3 separate regions of the Homo sapiens genome follow, and regions 1 and 2 are each linked to region 3. Evidence: promoter capture Hi-C in 16 types of primary human blood cells and fetal thymus (Javierre and others, 2016). All regions are on one chromosome and are shown on one strand. The core of a region is centred on a gene start or on the middle of the fragment in contact, and the rest is flanking DNA. Distances in the headings are between cores, read along the strand shown. Region 1 overlaps LOC105377343 (a long non-coding RNA gene). Region 2 overlaps METAP1 (methionyl aminopeptidase 1). Region 3 holds the start of STPG2 (sperm tail PG-rich repeat containing 2).

Evidence for each region. Contacts are between HindIII fragments. The CHiCAGO score rates a contact against its expected background, and 5 or more counts as called.
Region 1: a fragment that was not itself captured here is called in contact with the fragment with the promoter of STPG2 in region 3 in 4 of 17 cell types (naive CD4 T cells, total B cells, total CD8 T cells and 1 more); the score reaches 7.5 in naive CD4 T cells.
Region 2: a contact is called between a fragment that was not itself captured here and the fragment with the promoter of STPG2 in region 3, in 4 of 17 cell types (total B cells, non-activated CD4 T cells, naive B cells and 1 more). The highest score is 8.6, in total B cells.

What each region holds. Positions count from the first base shown.
Region 1 is chr4:98,829,999-98,832,698 of GRCh38, reverse strand. All of the region lies in intron 2 of LOC105377343 (a long non-coding RNA gene), which reads left to right. Among named protein-coding and RNA genes, the nearest start is that of EIF4E, 98 kb to the left of the region's middle. The HindIII fragment of the contact is 1,228 bases long and covers 721-1,948 here.
Region 2 is chr4:99,027,751-99,030,578 of GRCh38, reverse strand. METAP1 (methionyl aminopeptidase 1) reads right to left here. Exons shown (of 11, transcript NM_015143.3): 2 at 1,661-1,712. Among named protein-coding and RNA genes, the nearest start is that of MIR3684, 32 kb to the right of the region's middle. The HindIII fragment of the contact is 899 bases long and covers 960-1,858 here.
Region 3 is chr4:98,142,195-98,144,894 of GRCh38, reverse strand. It overlaps STPG2 (sperm tail PG-rich repeat containing 2), which reads left to right and starts at 1,419. Exons shown (of 11, transcript NM_174952.3): 1 at 1,419-1,853. The coding sequence starts at 1,745. RefSeq lists an enhancer at 1,593-1,692. The HindIII fragment of the contact is 14,460 bases long and covers 1-2,700 here.

The DNA of each region.
Region 1 (2,700 bases), core at 85-2,584, 690 kb before region 3:
TGCGTGCCACCATGCCCAGCTGATTTTAAAATATTTTGTGGAGACAAGATCTCCTATGTTGTCCACGCTGGTTTCTAACTCCTGTCTTCAAGTGATCCTCCCACCTTGGCTTCCCAAAGTGTTGGGATTACAGGTATGAGCCATTGCACCTGGCTCCCCCATCTGTGGTCTCTTGATGGGCAGACAATACATTTCATGCAGAAGGAGCAAAAACATGGCTGGATCAACTATACTTTCTGGGTAGGTTACCTGTGTTTTGGAAACATTTTCCAATTATATCAAGTTAGGTAAAATTCCATTCATTTCATCATGAAGCAAATGATACATGAATTCAATATTTTTCCTTTATTCTTTCCTTACAGCTCTTAATTATCTGCACATAATCATTTGGAAATATTTTTATTTATATTTCAATATAAATAGAGTCCTCTGGTTCAAAATTTCAAAAATGGAAAAGGCAACCCAGTAAATGGCCTCCTTCTGTCCACGCCCCCAGTCATCTAGTGCCTGTTGCCAGAGGCCTTCAGAGTTTCCAGTTTCTTGTCTATTCTCTTGGGGAAGGGGCTGGGGAAGGACTTCTTTTGTTCATCCACAAGGTTTACCTGAAAAGTGTTTTTTCCCTAACTCTCCTGGCCTCGGCCCCCATCCCTTTCTCCTCTCCTCAGAAAATAATGAGTTATATGATTGATGAGGGTGGCAGAAAAATTGGTGCACGAAGCTTAGTTATTTCGTGCCCTTCCTTTTTGGAGCAAGGTGACTCCAGCAAACAGACTTTTTGCTCTCCAATCATGTTTAAGCATGGACAAGAGTGGCCCTCACATGGGGAGGGTTGTGGGGGCCCAGCCCAAGTGAATGAGACTGCCTAGTTCTTGGGTTTAGTACTGGGGAATCTACTGTTGGCGCATACCTGAGTTGTGTTCTCTGACATGAGCTTTATCAATAATAAAAGTAATATTTTGAATTCCCATTGCCATTCTTTGTTTTCTATCAACCACAATGTATATAGACACAGAGATATAGACACTTGTAATTTTCCCCTCCTTTCCTTTAAAAAATTAAGTGATGGTGTACTAAATATCTTGCTCTCCATCTAGGAGATCATTTGTTATCAGTACATAGAGTATATTCTCATTTTCCTTTCTGGATGCATGGAATTCCCTTGTGTGGGAAGATCATTATTTAATCAGTCCCATATTAATGAACAGTAAGGCTATTTTCAATGTTTTGGTATTACTAATGTGCTGTAATGAATGACTTTGTACAGATGTCATTTTCCATACATGCAAATATTACCTACCTGACAAAATACAATAATTAGAATTACTGGGTCAGGCTGGGCACAGTGGCACATGCCTGTAATCCCAGCACTTTGGGAGGCCGAGGTGGGTGGATTGCTTGAGCCCAGGAGTTCAAGGCTGCAGTGAGCCATGATTGCATCACTGCATTCCAGCCTGGGTGACACAGCAAGACCCTGTATCTAAAAATGAATGAATGAATGAATGAATGAATGAATGAATGAATGAATAAAATAAAAAGAAAAAAAAGAATTGCTGGGTCAAAAATGTGCATGTGTATTTGGATGCATTTCTGCCTTTGTAATTAGTCCACTGAGCAGTCTACCTTACCATATAACATTATTCAACTGGCTTTATAGTACATTTTAATATCTACTGTAGTATTTTTTAAATGACTTTGTGCTATTTCTTGCTGTTTAAGTCAATCAAAATTGTATAAAATTTATGCACCTAGTTAAGGAGAATTGACATCTTAATGAAGCTATTTCTTCATTATGATGCCTTTTTAGTTATTCAAGGCTCCTTTTGTGTCTCTTAGTAGAGTTTTAAAGTTTTCTTCATAGAGATCTTGAATAATTCTTCTTAATACTTTACCCCCAAGTATTTGTTATTTTAAATTTTTTATTTTTCCTTCTTATTAAAAAATTCAAGCTTACCAGAAAGTTGCAAAAATAGTACAAAGAACTCCCATACTCCTCTTGCTCAGATTCACCAAGTTTTAACATGTTGCCATATTTATTTTATTATCTCTTTCTCAGTATAGATACATTTTTTTCTGACCCATTGGAGAGTATGTTACTTTTATCATGCCCCTTTACCTGTTAATTCTTCCATGTGTATTTCCTACAGACAAAAATATTTCTTATGTTGTAATAATACAGTAATCAAACTCAGGAAATTTAAAATTGCTATATGCTATTATTTAATCTGCAGCCCATATTCCAATCTCATTAATTGTCACAATAATGTCATCTGTAGCAATTTCATTCTTTCTTGGGACAGGATCAGTCGCGGATCATTGGTTATCATGACTCTTCACTCTCTTTAGAGGACGTTCCTCAGTCTCTCTTTGTCTTTCATAAGAATGTCTTTGACTTTCATAAGACATTTTGGAGAAGGCAGGTCAGTTGTTTTATAGAATTTTTTCAGTTTGGGTTTGTCTGATGGTTTCTCATAGTCAGATTCAGGTATGAACTTTTGGCTGGAAAACAATATGAATGCTATTGTGTTCTTGGGGTATCATATTCACAGGCTTATTTATTTCTTATTTTAGCAATATTAATTTTAATAATTAACCCATTTGTTTCTTTTATTATTATTATTATTTTTTTGGACAGAGTCTCACTCTGTTGCCCAGGCTGGAGTGCAGTGGCATGACTGCAGCTCACTGCAACCTCTGCCTCCC
Region 2 (2,828 bases), core at 160-2,659, 890 kb before region 3:
AAAATTTACTGTGGTCAACTTACTAGGGTATGAAAGATACAGAGCTGGCCACCTAAGGATGATCTCTATCCATCACAGCCAAAGGGATTAAGAACAGCAGGCTCATCCACTGAAAAAAGTTATCCCAAAAGATCCAACAGAGCAATAGCTACAAGATGGCACCATACTAAACACTAGAGGTGTAAGTAAAAATGCAAATAGCCTAAATCCAGTGTTGTAATAATCACCTTCTTTTTACATAGGGAACACTTGCTGTTTATTCCCTTGTAGTGTAAGTCAAAAGGAAATAGCCCTGCCCCTAAATATCCAGTATTGAAGAAACAGGCACACATCAATGAGTTAGCAAATCTGAGGGAGAGGCCGATTTTAAGCTTTTTTACTAACATATTGTTTAACCTCAACCCTTTATTACTTACCAATGCTTTTAACTTCCTGGGTATAAAATGCTAGTAACTGGCTCAAAGAGCTCTGCAAAATACCTAACACATTAGAAACACAGGATGTATGTAATGCATGAATGAATATAGTTAAGTGAGATTATTTAAATCCATCTCTAAATTTTGACAGAGGTAACAAATCAACAAGTCCTATCTTTTATGCGTTGATAAACTTACACTGAGTCACATCATTTTTCCTCATCTCTAACCACATTTCTCCCACAACAGCCTAGCATGTCCATTAAATGTAGATGTCGCTTTATACAACTACAGAAAATTTGTCTTTTTAAAATTTGTATTTCCCTGTTCCTTCAAATGGTGGTTTGGCTGACCTCAATTAGATTTGTTTTGGTAAAAACACACTACATTCAAACTTCATTAAATCAGCTAACTCCTAAAAAAAAAATACACAAGTAGATGAATATAAGACACCAAGATCAGGTATGTAGAAACAGAAACCTTATACCAAGAACAATGTAAATAAATAACCATGTTATTTCCCACTTCAAATTAAATCAAGCTTTGATCCATCAGGATGGCAATGCTATATAGAACAGAAAGCCCTTGTCAACTTTCAGGCAACTGTGACAGGTTGTCTTAAACCAGCCACGCTAATGACATGAATTTACAGGATAAATTAGCTGGAGCAAAAAAGGCAATGTGAATCTCAGCTACATCAGTGTGGCTGACAGTAATAGCTAAGGAGCAGCTAATAGTTTTACTTTGTAGTGTCACACAAAAAACTTCAAAAAAGAAAATTAAACATAAGACTGCAGGTAATAACATTAAAACACCAAAAAACAAAGTAATATAGTTTTGAGTAGAAAAAGCAATACAAATTGAAACTAAAAGAAACCAAAAGGAATCTGGTTAAATGAAGCCAAATCACTCACATAATCCCTGACTACAATATGCAAACACTTCCAGCAACATAACAGTGTGTCAAAAGATGACAGCATCATCAGGTATGGCTCAAGCAAGATCCATCTATACTAACAACTATCTCATGTTTTCATGTTAAATATGTAATACAAGATTAAGATATTATCCAGACATATTTTATTTACATATCACAAAAATTTAAAATATGTCATAATTCTAGTATTCAGGATTATACTTTCAGAACATTCAAATATACACTTTCAGAACTAGAAGAATTCTTGTTTTCTGGCACAAATGCCACTTCTAAGACAAATGGTGTAAAAATTTGTGATTGTACTTACTTGCTTTCTTATGTAGTAACTTGTGAGTAGCCCAACTTCCTTTAAAACATTCCTAAAAGAACAAAAAAGGAAAATTAGTGTCAGGCCTTCCTTAATAAGAAACATTTTAAGGAATATTGTATATAAGCAAGAGTTATTGTAAACTATTTGCAAAAACCAAGACCTGTAACTTTGCGAATTAAATATTTGGGAAAAGCTTAAGAAATGACACCTGTTCAATATTCACTTCAAAAAGCAACCTAAACTTTATTTCAAATAAGCAAGGAATATTAGGCTAAATGTTATATAATAGTCACAGTTATATTTCAATTTTATGTCAACAAACTATTACGAAGTATTTCAAAAGAATCATTAGACAATTAACCAATCATACACTGGAAAAAAACTGCAAGAAAATTTTTGCAGATTCTTTTATTTACAGTAGTTAGATTCCCAATCAGTCATACACACACTAAAATCACCCATGTAAGTAGTTACTATGTGACACAGCCCTGAGGCCATAAGCTGTGTGAGGGAAGGGATGGTATCAAAGTTTACCACTATTGCTCAGAGCCAAGCAGAGTGCCTGGCATGTGCTAGGGTTTCAGTGAATGCTTGACTGAATGATCAGAATTAATGAGTAACTAGAAAGACTTTTCATTTAGGAAAATATGTTCATGTAACATATTTCAGACACTAGTAAGAAGTGGCAAACTGGGAAAATGAATTCAAGTAATTAATTGAATTCAAGTAAGGAACTCAAGTAATAAAGGAAAAGAATAATTCAAACAGACATAGACTTTATTTATGTTTTGAGGTTGATGGCCTCTCCTTCAAAGAGTTCAAAGTTACTCAAATAAATTATTAAAAATGCTAAGAGAATTCACAAAGTCTTACAAATGTGTTATCTTTGTAGACATAAAACTAGTAAGACACGGACAAGAAGAAAGTTAAGGAAAAAAAAAGCACGGGAAAAAAAAATCCCTAGGACTACGTAGTTAACCAAATCATATTACACTAAAGCTGCCTTCTGTAAAGGTTTGCCCAAGGGACTCTGAAAGATCAGTTTCTCCAACCTCAGCTAGAATCTTCACTACTTTCTCTTTACTCTTTCTGTAGCCTCCACAGCCCGCAACAGTTAAGCAAAGAAAATCCAGGTCATCCCTATCTCTACAACCTACAACCTAAA
Region 3 (2,700 bases), core at 170-2,669:
TCTTCTGAATGGGTATAGGTGGCAGCTTGGAAAATAAGGTTAAAACAACATTGAGAGAATTATGAGGGTTTCTGACAGAATGCAGGGAGAATCGAAGTTGGTGAGATGTTTCCAAAATATTGCAATATTCATTTTCCTACCATTAAAAAAAATCTTTGCCACCTCTCGTTTTGGATTATACGTCTCTTTCCCCATTAGAGAGAGAACACCTGAGGGCAGGGACTTTCTTATGCCTTTGTATCCTCATAACTTAGCAGGGATGGAACCTACAGTATATGCCAATTCGTGTTTTTTAAGTGCATAAATAATTTAGCTAGCTATTGAACAGAAAAAAAGGTACTACAGATACATCCTTGAGAAGCATATAGCCTCGCAAGGAGAGGGTTCCGACCTATATGGCACAATGAAGCCACAGTAAATGTTGCACAGGATTGAGTGGCAAATCGTGTATTACAGAGTATGAAAACTATAAAAACTTGTAGTAGGAACAAATTAACGTACTGTAGACCATTTGGAGGTGAGGTATGATCAAGGTAGGATTTGTCTAAGCCTCTGAGGATATTTATAATCTGGACAGAATTCTTGCTAGAAAAAACAGCCTGCGAGATGCAGAGGTGGATTCTGACATAGATTCCTTAAGCCCCAAGGACAAGCAAGGTTTCTTTTGCCCAAGGTTCAGAATCATTGGTTTGGTGGGGTGGACTGGGCTTTTTCAGTGCCTTCGCTTTGCTTTTTAAATATTGATGAATCAGTATTGTGGTTACCTGGCATACGACAAAAGAGGCAGCTTTCAGTCACTTCCACGGCTTCAGTTGGTGAGCTTTTCGCCTCCTTGCCTGGTGTCCTCATTTCTTTTTTTTTTTTTTTCTTTTTTACCCTTATCTTATTTGTTATTTTTTTTTCTGGGTTCTCCATTTCTTGTCACTGCCCTGAGCCCTGGGTTTGTCTTAGCAGTTTGGACTATCTACAGGTTAAGATCAGAGGTGCCTTTTCTCTGTGAGTACGAGTGGGGCTGCAGTAGAAGCGGGGGAGAGCTTGCGGAACCCCAAGCTCTCTGCTTCATGCTACTGCATTTTTCTTTACTAGGTTCTGTTGAGTCGGGAAGCAGATCAAGGTCAAGTTAGTCCTCACCCTTCCTAACGCGTTTTCTAAGGTTCTTCTGCATACTTAAAAAAGTTCGGGACCTAAGTAGTTACCGGGACCCCAAGAGCTACGAGGTTTAGGCCTGCCTTCTTCAAGGCGCGCCGGGTTCCGGGTAAAAAGAGCCGGGAAAGGGTGGCTGCTCGGTGCGCATGCTCCGAGGGCTCGGCCCAGGAAGGCACCTCCACTTCGCTCCCTAGAGACTGGGCCCGCCTCCTCCCCAGAGACTGGGCCCGCCTCCTCCCCAGGCTTCCGGGCGGAGAGAAGTGGGCGGAGTCAGGGCCGGAAGCACCGGGGCGAGCGTCTAATCCCTAATACCCAATTTTGGTGGCGTGCACCTGGCAAACTGATGATTGTGTGGGACGTCTAATCTCTAGTCGCTCACCCCTCTACTTTACCACAGAGCTAGAAATCGATTTGAGGAAATCTGGTATCAATGAGCGGGCGGGGAGACAACCCCACCCCTAATTTCCCTGTTTACGGAAGTTCTTTCCCGGCCTCCTCAGACTGGTGTCGGCTTCCTTTTTCTCCACACTTCTAGCTACCTTGTTTTTATCGTTTTCGGCACCTGCCCTTCCCCAGCGCCCCCACCACCCCGAGCACTATGTATGATCGGGCTCCCCGCCTGCTCAAATTGGCTGAAGGTGGCAGCACTGAGGCCCATGTGGGTCCTGGATCCTACCAGGTACCTTTCCTGAAGCAGCAGGCGACAGGTAAGATGTAGGAAGAGGCAGAGCTCCTGTGACAGGCATCCTATCTTCAGCCTGCTCCGCTTCTGCGTGCTTGTGAGTTAAACATAGAGCGGAATAGTACCATTTTGTAAACATAACAAAACATGAAGTAGGCAGGGAAAACACTATACTTTTATTTTACAGATGAGACTGATAGTATCACTTGTCCCATTTCAAAAGGCTGGTGAGCATATGGCTAGGACTTTTGATTCCGCAATAGTTGTCTACATCCTACTTTTGATTGTGCAGTTTAGGTCTAGGATTTTGATTTCCTGGCTGTGTTGACATAATATATGAGTCTCCAAATCCTGTGCCCTTACCTCCCGCTGTCTCGTTGCTTTGTAATCCTGCCTGCCTCACATCTTTCCTCCCATTAACCAGAGACATTTATTTATTAAGATGTAGCTTATATTTCTATTTTGCAGTATTATTTAAAGATAGTTCCGTTTTTTTTTCAGACAGATTTTTCTGACCGTCCTCATCTCTTTTAACACACTTCAGGGGAGCCCCTTTTCTCCACATTCTGTAAAGAAAAATTATATTTTTGACCAGTGGAGTGGGGATGGATAATTTAAATAATATTTGCTCTCCTCGTTTGTTTGCAGTTAGTGACTTAGTCAAAAATAAATACATCAATTTTGCTTTCTACTTTTTCTATTCTGGTGATTTTCTGGAGCTTAATACCGTCCAAATGATAGTTTTTCTTAACCTACATTTTCCCCATACCTACACTATGTATTTTCAAGCAAATGCCAGGATCCATTATTCTGTTACATAACTGATCAGATAAGGGAAGGTTTAGGTTTCTTGGGGTGGAGTACAAATTTGA